Regions from separate parts of the Homo sapiens genome. Here all the other regions are linked to region 3. The links are contacts of gene promoters, found by promoter capture Hi-C in blood cells and fetal thymus (Javierre and others, 2016). All regions are on one chromosome and are shown on one strand. The core of a region is centred on a gene start or on the middle of the fragment in contact, and the rest is flanking DNA. Distances in the headings are between cores, read along the strand shown.

What was found. Contacts are between HindIII fragments. The CHiCAGO score rates a contact against its expected background, and 5 or more counts as called.
Region 1: a fragment that was not itself captured here is called in contact with the fragment with the promoter of NME5 in region 3 in 10 of 17 cell types (M2 macrophages, megakaryocytes, M1 macrophages and 7 more); the score reaches 10.1 in M2 macrophages.
Region 2: a contact is called between a fragment that was not itself captured here and the fragment with the promoter of NME5 in region 3, in 2 of 17 cell types (erythroblasts and M1 macrophages). The highest score is 5.5, in erythroblasts.

What each region holds. Positions count from the first base shown.
Region 1 is chr5:138,034,912-138,039,832 of GRCh38, reverse strand. It overlaps FAM13B-AS1 (FAM13B antisense RNA 1), which reads right to left. Exons shown (of 2, transcript NR_037900.2): 2 at 900-3,640. It also overlaps a transcript of FAM13B not described here. Among named protein-coding and RNA genes, the nearest start is that of FAM13B, 4.3 kb to the right of the region's middle. RefSeq lists an enhancer at 3,365-3,574. The HindIII fragment of the contact is 4,067 bases long and covers 948-4,921 here.
Region 2 is chr5:138,053,173-138,057,992 of GRCh38, reverse strand. No RefSeq gene overlaps it. Among named protein-coding and RNA genes, the nearest start is that of FAM13B, 23 kb to the right of the region's middle. The HindIII fragment of the contact is 1,758 bases long and covers 1,287-3,044 here.
Region 3 is chr5:138,137,986-138,142,633 of GRCh38, reverse strand. NME5 (NME/NM23 family member 5) reads left to right here and starts at 3,206. Exons shown (of 6, transcript NM_003551.3): 1 at 3,206-3,263; 2 at 3,849-3,982. The coding sequence starts at 3,854. BRD8 (bromodomain containing 8) reads left to right here. Exons shown (of 27, transcript NM_139199.2): 26 at 1,752-1,929; 27 at 2,468-2,864. The coding sequence ends at 2,560. The HindIII fragment of the contact is 15,003 bases long and covers 1-4,648 here.

The DNA of each region.
Region 1 (4,921 bases), core at 1,732-4,231, 100 kb after region 3:
TTTGGCAAAAAATACAGCTGTAGTTAAACTGCAAACTGCAAACATTGGCGTTGTCAGTTTGCCACAGAAAATGTGGTCTGAATGGAAGGTGCCTGAAGGCTAGGCATGGTGGCTCATGCCTGTAATCCCAGCACTTTGGGAGGCCGAGGTGGGAGGATCTCTTGAGCCCAGGAGTTAGAGGCCACCCTGGGCAATGTAGTGATAATACGTCTCTAAGAAAAAAAAAAAAAAAAGCTGGGCATGGTGGCACATGCCTGTAGTCCCAGATACTTGGGAGGCTGAGGTGGGAGGATTGCTTGAGCCTGGGATACTGAGGCTGCAGTGAGCTATAATTGGGCCACTGGACCCAGACCCTGACTCAAAGGGGAAAAAAAAGGTGCTGAGAAGCAACTTGGCTGGTCAAATGATAGGAAGGCTCAAAAGCCTAGAGCCTGTAAGGAACAGGTAGGATATGCAAAATGGTGAGACCCTCCTGCCTAGATTTCTGGTTAAAAAGGCAGCAGAAAGTTCATGATTTTGTGAAGGTCATAATCTCACTGAATCTCAGAGCAGTTTTTTCTTTCCCCTATATGGATACAGGCAGAGGGAAGAAGAGAAAGGGATATTTATTCTTTGTTATTTATTTATTTTCAACAATAAAAGTTCTGATTGTGGAAAAAATATCTAGCTGATTATAGGAATTTAATAAAGAAACCAAAACAAATTAGTCTTATAGCTGATGATAGTATTGGCCTACATTATTGTCATACACTGAATTCTGAGTTATCAGGCCAAATATGTGGACTTGGCAAAGATGAGACTTACTGTTAATTGTTCCAGCTCTCCAAACTGGATGTGACTGGCACCAGTGGCTATATGAGTGAATATAGAAGCTGAAATCCACATTATGTTAACTTTGGTTCTATTCCACCAAAATATTTTATTCCAGAGATATGTAAGATGAAGCTTTTCCAGGGCAGAGATCATGATCATATCGCCTAGCACAGTGCCTGACCCATAATAGCTGCCCAAGAAATATGTGTTGAATAAATAAATGGCACAAAGGTTATTCTGGGTTGCTAAGATCAGAACAGTATTTGCCATTATTTTGGAGGTTGGCGTGGGATTTGTACACCCTGGAACAGTTTCTTCTCTTTGCAGCTAGTGATATTTTTCTGTTTATGAAAAACACACATTCTTGCACACTGGCACAATGGTCCTGGGCAAAGTGGCACAGAAAGATTTCCACTCCATTTCTTGGAAGAGCCAGCAATACATCTCTCTAATGGTGAGTTGCTTCTCTTTTACCAGAGGATTTAAATTTGATGTGTTTTTAGTTCTTCCTTTCTTCCCAGTAGAGGAGACTACCTCAAGGAGAAAATTCATTAGCTGAGTTTGACTGAATTTGATAGCATTTTACTGCTCTGTGAGAATCAAGAGTAGTCACAATCTCATCTCCATATGCACTTGTTTTTCCCTGCACACAAGACTGCATGTAATGATGGCTTCCTATCTGTATTTACAGTCATGTCTTGTTCTACAAATGGGCAGTGTAAATATGCTTCTAATTGGGGAAGAGATGTGCTTGTATTTACTGTAACTTACAAGGCTCAGAAGATCTTAAAACCAGCACCGAGAGTTTGGGGGAATTCTTAGTGGTTCTTGGTTTTCATTTACAAATAGATAGACAAAGATTTGGCAATTTCTGTCAAGAAAGGTGTTCACACTGGGCCTCATTCCTGGCAATAAATCCAGATATGAAAGCAAGACATTTTCAGGTTGTTCTCTAGGCCTCTGAATGCAGTATAGGAGAGGGAACTGAAAAAATTGTATATGGCTAATAAAGCACTTTTATGCATACCAATTCATTTAAGTCTGTTTCCCTATTTGACTAATGGGGAATCTAAGGTACAACTAAGTTAAGTAACTTGACCAGAGTCAAAAGGCTAGTAACAGGGCTAGAACTGGAACTTGGAATGTTTGTTTTATCTATTTTACTTTTAAGTGATAGAATTGGTGGGGATAGAATATATCTTTTTGGCTTTTCTGGCTAGGGTGGCTCGTTTCTTATTAACATCGTATTAAGAAAGACAAGGCAGCCTTGACTGAACTCAAGTTAATCTATATCCCAGTACTCAAACAGCCTTGCTCAGGGAGATCAGTAACGGTAAGGAAAACACCTGATTAAAAGTTTCCTTACTGATGGTGCAAGGGAAGGGCTCAACATCCTGCTACATCTGGAAGAGATGAATTCAGTCAAACTCATGTAAAGGATGGAAGAACCCATTTGCATTCTCTGTGAATAATGAGGGCATTATTAGCCATCTGTAAAGTAACTGCAGAGACAGCTACTTCCTGACTTCAAGTCTCATTCCAGTGACACTGGTGACCTTGGGGAGGCAGATATGCTGAGGTCCTCCCTGGCATCTAGAATGCAGTCCAGGTTGTAGCAAAGATATATTCCTTCCACAGTGATGTGACTCATGACCTTACTTCTGAGAGGCATAATGCCTCTGTTCAGATAAGCTGGGATAGAATGCTTGTTTTCCAGGCTTAAAAGTCATCTTGCAAATAAATAACAATTTTATCTCAAGTAGTAATTTTCCTGGCATGGCCTCATCTCCAGAAGGAGTCTTGGAAACACAAAGGATTGGTCTATACCAGTCACTTCTCATCCTGGCCAAATAGCTATTGCAAATGCTATTTTTGACTCTATTGATATATTGAAATGTGACGTTTCCATCTACAGGTAAAGAATTTGTAGGAAAAAAAGAAGAAAAAGTGATGTAATTTTGAAGTATTCTTTTAGTGAGGTATTCTCTCATCTCTGTAACAAACAGAATTGCTGTTCTTTGCTGTAGGGGCTGTCCTGTGCCGTAAAGGATGTTTACCAGCATCCTTGACCTTCTCCCACCAGCCAATAGCACCTCTCCAGTGGTGACAATCAAAAATGTCTGTATTCAGCAGATCCTGAATTCAGAAGGAAAAAAAAAGTTTAAAAAAAAACCAAAAATGTCTGCACACATGGTCCCCCAAAATTGTCGCAGTTGAGAACCACTGTTTTAACTGAAGCAACAAGATTATTATAAAAGAAACCATCTTCTTCCCTCCATCCACCAAAAAACTAAAGTAATTTCTGAGATAGACCCCCTCTAGAAATTTCAGAGGATTTAGACAAAGCAGGTAGATTAAATACTCAGTTATTTAGTTATAAAAGGCCAAACCAGAATTATTGAGGACAATGTCTTTGGAGACTGTTGCTGGTGAGCTGTGATTCTTACCACAGGTGCCTGCCTGCCTTTTACTTCAAGTCGAGGGAGTGGGCCTTCAATGGATCTGCTCAGAGCACTTGACTTGTACCTCCTGCAGTCTGAGGGGCACCGTGGGCCTGTGTCTGACTCCCACAGGCTGGCGGCTGTTTTGGCAGCAGAGTAGAGGAATGTTGAATCTGCACTGGGATTAGCCTGTACTCCCAAGTTTGTTCGGGCAAGAGGTGCCTGAGAGCTTCCTGTGGACCAGGTGTGGGCCATACAGAGCTGTCACTAGGCTAACACAGCAGCACCATGAGAAAAAAGCTCTCCTTCGTCCAGACGCTTTGCTTCCATCTATTGGGAAGCAGTCGTTGTAATTTAGTTTGGACAAAACACTTTACTGCCACCTGCTGGAAAAACATTAAAATAAATAACATACAGAACTACAGTGAGAATGATGTGAATGGCACCCCCTAGGGTACGGAGTGCACAACCTTGTCCCACAATAAAGGGTCACTTGCAAATGGACGAGTGTGAGAGTCATCTCAGATCCTATCTGACAGGGCCTTTACAGAGATGCCCAGGTTTCAACAGACAAGTAGTTGGAGGTGCGTGGAAAGAAGTAAATAACTGCCAAAATAGCTTTACGCTTAGACCAATAGAATTATGGGGGAGAAACCACCAGAGAAGGGGGATGGTGGTAGTCTCTGAGGTATCCATGAAAAAATAAGTCAGCTTTAAGCATCTACCATGCCCAGGGAATGTCAAACCATCATACAAAGTTAACAACTTTCCTGCTCCTTTTTCTCCCTGCCTTCCCCAGATTTGGTTATGATTAGTTAAGCCGGGAGGAGAAAGACTAGGCAGGTTAAAGATGACTATGGTCCCCTCTTTAGGGCAAGCAATGAGACAACTGTTCCCAGCTGAAAAAGAGGAAAACATTTCACTCTTTGTGACTCAATGACAACAGGACTCTATTCCTAAGGAGACCACAGAACCCCTAAAAACTCATGGAACCTGCCTGAGTTTTCAATTAGGTACATGACAGATCTACTCCCACTGCACAAATTGAAAGGCATGGCAAAAGATACAAAATAAAAGTGTTTGTTTTGAATTATAGCCCATGTGGCCCCTATGTTGAACATACTGTTTTTATATTATCAAGTAGGATCTAGAGAATATATCTTCCAAGAATATGTTCTGCAGTTTTTGAGGGGGAAAATGGTCATTGATCAATTCATTTGTTTTTTGAGATCCCATACTTTGTGGGTAGGGTATAAAAACGCAAGGGAGGCCGGGCACGGTGGCTCACGCCTGTAATCACAGCACTTTGGGAGGCTGAGGTGGGAGGATCACTTGAGGCCAGGAGTTCAAGAGAGGCCTGGGCAACATAGGGAAACCCATCTCTAAAAAAATTTTAAAATTAGCCAGGCATGGTGGCATGTCCCTGTAGTCCCAGCTACTCAGGAGACTAGGGTAGGAATGCTGCTGGAGGCCAGGAAGTTGAGGCTGTATTGAGCCATAATCCAGACACTGGACCCCAGCCTGAGTGACAGAGCAAGACCTTGTCTCACCAAAAAAAAAAAAAAAAAAAAAAAAAAAAAAAAGGCAAGGGAATCCTTCCCTCTGGGAGCTTACATCTTAGGTTTCATATTCAGAGCAAAGTATTTATTACAGTCAGTTATGTCAAC
Region 2 (4,820 bases), core at 916-3,415, 84 kb after region 3:
TGCAACCTCTGCCTCATTCTCCTGCCTCAGCCTCCCGAGTAGCTGGGATTACAGGCATGCACCATCACGCCCTGCTAATTTCTGTATTTTTAGTGGAGATGGGGTTTCTCCATGTTGGCCAGGCTGGTCTTGAACTCCTGACCTCAAGTGATCCACCTGCCTTGGCCTCCCAAAGTGCTGGGATTACAGGCATGAGCCACCATGCCCAGCCTATCTTAATTTTTTATATTAAAAGTGTTTTGGTCTTTATTTCGAAGTTTGGTGATGTTTTTGTGACAAGAAATATGCCACAGGAACTTACCTCTTTTTTGTTTTTTTTTAGACAGGTTCTTCCTCTTACACCCAGGCTTCAGTGCAGTAGCGCAATCATGGCTCACTGCAGCCTTGACCTCCCAGGCTCAAGCAATCCTCCCACCTCAGCCTCTGAAGTAGCTGGTGCTATAGGTGTGCACCATCATGCCTGGCTAATTTTTTGTAGAGCTGGGGTTTCACTATGTTGCCCAGGCTGGTCTTCAACTCCTGGGCTCAAGTGATCTTACAGCCTCAGCCTCCCAAAGTGTTGGGATTACAGGCATGAGCCAAAGTGCCCAGCCTTAACTCTTGTTTATACCAATTAGCCTGTGGTAAAATTGGTTTTGTTATACATCATTTCACTTAAAGTCACAGTTTCCAAGAAACTATCACTGATGTTAAGTGAGGACTTACTGTACTTCACTAAAAAACAAAACAGGCCGGGTGCGGTGGCTTACGCCTGTAATCTCAGCACTTTGGGAGGCAGAGGCGGGCGGATCACAAGGTCAGGAGATTGAGACCAGCCTGGCTAACACGGTGAAACCCCGTCTCTACTAAGAATACAAAAAAAATTAGCCGGGCATGGTGGTGGGCGCCTGTAGTCCCAGCTACTCAGGAGGCTGAGGCAGGAGAATGGCGTGAAGCTGGGAGGCAGAGCTTGCAGTGAGCCGAGATCATGCCACTGCACTCCAGCCTGGGCGACAGAGCGAGACTCCATCTCAAAAAAAAAAACAAACAAATCTTTGGTCAGGAGTTTGAGACCAGCCTGGCCAACATGGTGAAACCCCATGTCTACTATAAAAATACAAAAAAATAGCCGGGTGTGGTGGTGGGCGCCTGTAATTCCAGCTACTTGGGAGGCTGAGGCAGGAGAATCTATTGAACCTAGGAAGTGGTGGTTGCAGTGAGCTGAGGTTGTGCCATTGCACTCCACCCTGATCAACAAGAGCAAAACTCCATTTCAAAAAAAAAAAAAACAACGGTGCTTTTAAGCTTTTAAAAAATCACCACCAACAACAAACCACAACCCCCACCACCCCACAATATTTTGGTCAATTTTAAGTTTAAATCAATTTAGAATAAAAGACATAATAATGTTCCCAGAAAGCCTCTGCCTATAGTATGGGCATAGGACCTCTTTCTCAAATACTCAGCTCTCAGTATTCACAACTACAGTTATCTTCACGCCTTGTTTGCAAATTAGCTCTTAGCTCAGAGCTAATAACTTTTACTTGAGGGAATCAAGTCAGTCTTAGATGTCTTCTCTCCCTTGACTTTAGTCACCAAGTGCAATTTTTTTTTTTTTTAATAGAAAGGGTCTCACTCTGTCACCCAGGTTGGAGTGCAGTGGGGCAGTCACAGCTCACTGTAGCCTCAATTTCCTGGCCTCAGGTGATCCTCCTACCTCAGCCTCCCGGGTAGCTGGGACTACAGGTGTGTGCCACCACACACAGCGAATTGTTTTGTATTTTTTGTAGAGACAGAGTTTTGCCATGTTGCCCAGGCTGGTCTCGAACTCCTGAGTTCAAGCGATCTTCCAGTCCTGGACTCCCAAAGTGTTGGGATTACAGGTGTAAGCCACCATGCCTGCCGCATAGTTTTTGAAGCATACAACAATCTTTTGTCTTGGTTCTGTCAAATACAGAGTTTTGATAGTAGGAAGACAGGTTTATTGAACACTTTATTCATGAAGCAATTCAAGTAATAAATTCAAACTTTTGTCTGCTATTTGCCTTTTTTAAAAAATTAGCATATCTTTTGGCAGTTTGCATTAAAAATAGAGGCTGTACCTATGAGGATAACCTTAAAAAATAAGTTGCAAAAAACAAGATCAATTTATTGCCAATCTTTCCCAAGGTGTTTTAATTTTTATTATTCTTTTTGGTCTTTGCCCCTCTGACAATTCCATGGTAGGTAGGTTTAGAAAACGACTGATAATTCACTCTGCCTCTTCCTACGTAACCCATATTTATCAGTCTGTTGCAGGTGGCTCCATTTTGGTTCAAAAGGCACTGAACAATTTTGGGGAGAGGAGATACAAACTTCCTCATAACCATTGTATAGCTACCTATGCCTAAGAAAAATGTTAGGGAAAGGTCTATTGTTCCCCATCTACCCCTTTTCCTAATTTGAAAACAAGGAGCAGTAGGGGAGGGAAGGGGTCCCACATGGAGGTCTATGTTCCTGACAAGGGTTAATTTACTAGCGTGCAAGCCTCGTCCAGAGTCATTGCAGCCAATGGGGGTTCACTCTGATGAGGTAATGCTTTCAGCCCATGTTTCATTGGTTTCCCTTCTCATTACTTGGCGTTCTCTCAGAGGCTGGGAAGTGGAGAGGGCTAGTTTTAGGGCTAATAGGAGCTTTTTCCTCGTGACAGGTACAGGTGGTGCTTACAGAAATGCTTGGAGCCACGGGGGGAAATCTGTTTCCTCTTCTCAGATGTCCTGCATCTTGAACCAGTTCTTCTACCTGGGGCTGTAAGGGCATCTCCTAGTCTGGCCCTTATCCCCATTCGTCTGTCAGCTCCCAGGGTTCTCAGGAATGAGAACGAGTGAGAGGAAGTTGACTTATACCCTGAGGAGCCGGAGCTGAAAGGAAAGCCTGCCAGTCCTCGGATGAATACATCCCATTACGTTTGTCAGCCTAGGACCTTTGAATCCAGCAGCCCTTCGCTTCTGAACCCTCTTTGGCCGGGGAGCAGTAGCGCTGGCTGTGAGTCAGGCTGACTGCCTCTATACCTCCCCTACAAAGCTTGAGGGGTGATAAGGAAAACTGGGGCTTCCTTCCAGTCATCTTTCCTCTGTCCATGGTCTTTTATTTTGCTTACCTCCATTGTGGGAAATTGTGTTGTCTGCACTGTAGTGGCCCATATAGGTCCTTTGACAAGCAAACAACTGTTTACTATGTCTCTGAAAGAACTTGGAGAGCCCTCGGCCCTGCTTTTTTTTCTCTCTCTCTTTTTGCCCTGCTTTTACATCAAGATCTGTATCAACTTCCTGGCAAGGAGGGAGAAAGCACCAGATTCTAGGCTGTGTGTAAACAGGGAAACTGAGGCTGGGAGGATGAAGTAATTGTGGATGAAGTGGGGATAATAGACAAGTGCTTGTCTCTGACAACCAGCCTGATTTTTGGCCGTAAACTCATGCTTCTTTTTACACGTTTGAGAATTAGACAACAAAGAAGCAACAGGGTATATTCAGTATGGTTGAACTCTCTGAAGTTTTTCAGGTCTGACTTATAAAGAAGAAGTGGACATTGTACACATGAATAGGACTTTACAACCACGTGGGGGAAAATTAGTAGAGGCTTCTAAGAGAGAACTGAAGCAGAACAGATTCTGTGGGCTCTGAGAGCTGAGGGAGACAGCATTGCAGAGGTGAATGGGCTGCCTGGGTTGCTCTGTAGAGTAGATGATCAAACCAATTTGAAACAAAATTTAGCTGGAAGCATCAGTCCTGCTTTTCATGGTTGAACTTCACAGAAGGAGATTCTGGGAGTCGAAGGGAATAACATTTTATGCTATTTTTCTGTGTAATTCTGGGAAAGGAGCTCTTTTTCTGTGACCCAGTTTAGCTGTCTAAAAATAAAAAAAATCACCCTGAATTCAAAGGAAGAATCTGTAAGTGAAAGGCTCACTCTAAGTGTTTAAAAGGTTGGCTACGGCATTTAAGATTCTGATGATATTGTCTGAGATATCCTGAAACTAACCCCATTCAGGTCTCCACCCACAGGATAAAGGTCTTCTTTCCATCCTGGTCTCGCTCTACCCCTCCCACCCCCAACTGACAGGGATCTGACCCTCCCTAGAACAGATTTATCACAGAAAACAAGAAAGACCAGGAAGAAAGGGCATAGCAAAAAGTAGGAGGCTCCCACATCAACGTGGAATCATAATATGTGTTTACAGGATGATCAGTTAATACATTTGAGAAAGTGCTTTGTCAGCTGTTACCATGATAACAAAATGGATTATGCTCCTCAAAAGAATAGAAACTGTTTTACTCATTGTGTTCTACCCCAGTGCCTGGCACTTTTTTTGGGGTGATTTTTTATTGGATTTTTTTTTTTTTTTTTAGAGATGGGGTCTCACTATGTTGCCCAGGCTGGTCTTCAATTGCTGGACTCAAGCGATTCTCCTGGCCAAAGTGTTGGGATTACAGGCCAGGCTTGAGCCACTGTGTCCAGCTGGTGGAAAATTTTAATTATATGAAGGTAGAAAGGCTAGTTTAATGTGACTCCATATATCCATCCCAGCTTCAGACTATTATCAACCCATCACATAGGTGCTTAATGTTTTGGGGAGAAAAGAAGGGAGTTTGGCAGTTTCTTAGACATAATTTACCCCATCTTTCTTTCTTGGGAACATTATGATCAATATGAACAATAAATCAGAAAAATCACATTTCCTGTACTTCACATTAGGTTAATCACATTTGAGAAAAACAAAAGTGAAAATCTTTTTTTTGAGATGGAGTTTCGCTCTTGTCGCCCAGGCTGGAGTGCAATGGCACAACCCTGGCTCACTGCAA
Region 3 (4,648 bases), core at 1,957-4,456:
ACGTCACCACGCCCAGCTAATTTTTGTATTTTTAGTAGAGACAGGGTTTCACTATGTTGGCCAGGATGGTCTCAATCTCTTGACCTCGTGATCCGCCTGCCTCGGCCTCCCAAAGTGCTGGGATTACAGGCTTGAACCACTGTGCTCGGCCTATTTTGGGTTTTTATAGCATAGGTCATCTAAAATGCTGTCATAAACCTGTATGGTAATAGAATGTAAAAGATCATGATAGGACCTTTGGAGAGTCACTAGTCTGTGCTGCTATAGCACAATACCACAGGCTGGATAATTTATAAATAATAGAAATCTATGTTTCTTTGTTTTGGTTCTGGAGGCTGGGAAGTGCAAGATCAAGGCATTGGTAGTTTTGGTGTGTGAGGTGGGTTACTCTCTGCTTCTGCTTCTAAGATGATGCCTTGTTGTTGTATTCTGCAGAGGGGACGAATGCTGTATCCTCACATGGCAGAAGGGACAGAAGGATAAGAGGGCACTCTCTTCGATATGGAGCCCTTTTATAAGGATGCTAATCCCATTCATGAAGGCAGAGCACTCATGAATTAATTACCTCCCAAAGGCTCCACCTCTTAATACTGTTGCACTTGGGATTAAGTTTCAACATGAATTTTGGAGGGGATACCATCATTCAAACAGCAGAGACAATGATACCATCATTCAAACAGCAGAGACAAACTTCTTTAGGAATGAGGAAACTAAAGCTCAGAGGTGCTTGGTCATGACTTGCTCGTGATCAACCAACAGTTAATAGCAGAGCTAGAACTAAGCCCCAGATTCTTACCTGCAGTTCAGTCTTCTTTCTACACTGCTGTGCCTTCTCTTATATATCTACTTTCTGTGTCTCATTAATATTGTCTTAATATTCACTTGATCCTTTTTTCATCTCCATGAAAGGAGAAAAAAATTATTCTTAGCTTTTTATTTGTGCAGTAAGAGAAGTAGATGAAATAATATATGACTATACATTGTAAACAGCAAATAACTACTGTGTGATAAACTGATGATTGGTGCTCTTTACAACTTTGATACCTGGGGCCAGCACTCCTCCTCTGATAGTAGAATATAGTGGCTTGACCTGTGGGCTCTGGAGTCAGGCTGCCTCTGAATTGGAATTCAGGCTGTGTGCCTTTCAGTGAGTACTTAACCTCTTTAGATTTCAATTTCTTCATCTGTGAAATGGAGATAATAAGGCCGGGGGCGGTGGCTCACACTTGTAATCCCAGTACTTTGGGAGGCCAAGGAAGGTGGATCCCCTGAGGCTAGGAGTTCGAGACTAGCCTGACCAACATGGTGAAACCCTATCTCTACTAAAAATACAAAAATTAGCTGGGCATGATGGCGCACGCCTGTAATCCCAGCTATTCTGGAGGCTGAGACAGGGGAATTGCTTGAACCTGGAAGGTGGAAGTTGCAGTGAGCTGAGATTGCTCCATTGCACTCCGGCCTGGGCAACAAGAGTGAAACTCCGACTCAAAAAAAAAAAAAATGAGATATTAATGATACCTACCTTACAGGTTTATTGAGAGGATTAAGTGAGTTAGTATAGAAATACAGTGTTTGGCCCATTGTAAACAGGCAAATATTAACTGCTGTTGCTATTTTATTATCTGATGAGGGTTGTTATCTTTGCTACTGTTTTCATTAAGAACTGGTTAGTTCTTCAAGAGAACGTGTTAGGTTATCATATGTTCCACATGAAGGTTTGATTTTCTTTGTTTTTTCTTGGCCACCTGCAGACCCATGGACTTAACTAGCCTGAAGAGAAATCTCTCTAAGGGTCGGATTCGCACCATGGCCCAATTCCTGCGAGACCTGATGCTGATGTTCCAAAATGCTGTAATGTACAATGACTCTGATCATCATGTATACCATATGGCTGTGGAGATGCGGCAAGAAGTCCTGGAGCAGATTCAGGTACTGTATGCAGATACCTGTAGCCTCTGGAATCTTGATTTCAGAACGCCTATGAGAATAAAGGTGATTTCGAGGTGACTGTGTTCTCAGAGTTTATTTTTAAAGGTGATTAAGGCCCTGAAGGATTGATAATGTGCCTGCTGGTTTGGAAAACCCTGAGCCTCAGTAAGTCCAGCTCTGATAGTGAAGTAGTCTAGGAATGCAGGCAGCAGTGAAGAGCTCTCAAGAGAGCTGAGGATAGACAAGTAATGGGAATTCCCGCTTCCAGAGCCTCAAGTCAAGGGCTAAACTCCAAAGAGGCTGGAGTCACTGTGTATTTTTTGGTTGCTTCATCTGTTGTTATTAATGTACGTTCACACTTTCCCATCTTTAGGGGATAAGATATAGTAGCTAGAAGACATTTGTGGGTTTCTTTTCTGGGTAGCATCATACTTTAAAGAAAAAAGTATAGTTGAGTCTATTTGCCAAAAAAATAAACTTGCAATACTTTAGTGTTTAAGGTTCATAATAGCTTGCTATGTGTTCCTTAACCCTTTAGGTACTGAATATCTGGTTAGACAAAAGAAAAGGCTCAAGTAGTCTGGAAGGAGAACCAGCTAACCCAGTGGATGATGGAAAACCTGTTTTCTAACCTGGAGCTGCTATCCTGACTTTTTCTAGAGTTTGAATCTCTCCCGGAACTCTGACCTAGAGAGGATCCTGGTACTTCTTTGCCATGTCCTCATTTTCTTTTCCAACAAGAATAATACCTTAACTCACAACCAACGAGTCAAAGATGCATGTGGACATAATATAAAGAAAAAAAGGGGAAGCTGAGGTTTGGATTTATGCCATAAATGTTGCCCACATCTTTGTTCCATCGGCTTGATTTAAAGACAATTCCATTAGATCTTTTCTAAGCCTTTTACTCTATAAATAAATGTATTTACACAATAGGAATATTGCTTTTTAATGACTAGATAAGCTGGGCATAGAGGGCACAGCATCATCTGGTGAAACGAAGGTATCTGACACGGGTCATTTACATATACCGCCTGGAAAGGAATGGTTGGGGGAGGGGTTCTTATCATTTATAGAGTAGGGATAATTGAAGCATCCTTCAAACGGGAAGAAGGATGAAATAAGATAAATTATGAGTAAAATGTCAGAAAACATCTAGTGCTCTAAGATTCACAAGGAGAATAAAAGTGACTGGCTGGCTCCCTTTGGTTAAAACGAACTGGCCAGAAGCTGCAAGGTTCCTTGCTGGGATTGGCTCTCTGCAGCCACCGTCCCCACGCTGGGGCTTCAGGTCTCCTAGCAACAAGTTGTACCATATGAGGACGGCCGCTGAGGTGAGTACTTAGAGAGGGTCAAATTCAGAATTTGCAGGTGCAACCCGGAAAGTCCCCGCGGACCTAGAGGCCCTGCTTTTCAATTAGCCTGACCCTATGCACAGAGAGGTCCCTGCGGGACAGGGTCGCTTCACAGAGGCAGCTGGCCGAGGCCGCTCACCCGCCGCTGTAATGGTGTGTGGTTGCCCACCAGCCACCGTCCCCTCGAGCCCCCACCACCCGCTCTACCGCCCCCTCGAGCCCCCACCACCCGCCCCACCGCCCTCTGCTGCCTGGGGCTGTTGCTGGTTCCAGGCCTTCGGGTCGCCCCTTGGCCTCTGGTTATGTGAGCCCATAGTCCTTCCTGCCTTGGTGACATCGTATACGAAAAGCCGGGGCTCGATTTGGACATAGTAGGAATCCTATTATTGAGACCCTGTATATAGAAAAACATGGCAGTTTCTACCTTCATCAGTTAATAAAATCAAGTACCTACTATTGCTATTCTTAATCATAATTACATTGAATTTGCGATGGGGGTGGGGGGAAATGCATGTCATTGCAGTTGATACCTGTTAAGAAACTCTTAATTTGTGCCCTGAAAAGCCATAATGGAGATATCAATGCCTCCACCTCAGATATATGTAGAAAAAACTCTGGCCATTATCAAACCAGATATTGTTGACAAAGAGGAGGAGATACAAGATATTATTCTTAGATCCGGATTCACCATTGTTCAGGTAACTTCTGGGTATGATGATTCATGCTTTTTTCCTCTCTGCCCTTAAAAAAAAAATGCTTATGTAAATGTGCCTACCCATTTAAACCCTTAGTGTTCAGCATTAAATTTAAGTTTATTCTTCTAAGTATAAAAGTTATATGTGATAGTTTTTAAAAGGATGTAAAATGAGAAATAAAATGGACTTTTCCTTCACCTGTCCTCTTTTACCCCAAGTCCCAGGCTCCAGAGAGAGGCAACCACTTAACACTTTCTGTTCTTCCAGGAGTTTTCTATGCATTTATAAACATTTTCCCCCCATAAAACAGAACAGTCCCTTTCCCTTGACCCCTTTACAGAGTCCCTCAGATAGGATTCCAGATCATTGCATCTGAATTGATCTCACTCTTCCTAATTTCTGTGTAATATTTCCCTGTGTATTAGAACTACAATTTATTTACTTGATCTTCTATTGATGGAATTTTAGGCTATTGGTACTTTTTTCAGTTATGGCATAACATTTAATGTTTTAAGCCTTATGTTCTGCAATTAGTAAACATTGTCATTCTAGGGGTTTGAAAGTGAATATAAATAGCATTGTTAAGGATAAATCAAATAGAATTGAATATTTTTAATCTTCCTCTTTTATAGTTTTTTTTTCTTTTTTTTGAGACAGAGTCTCCCTCTG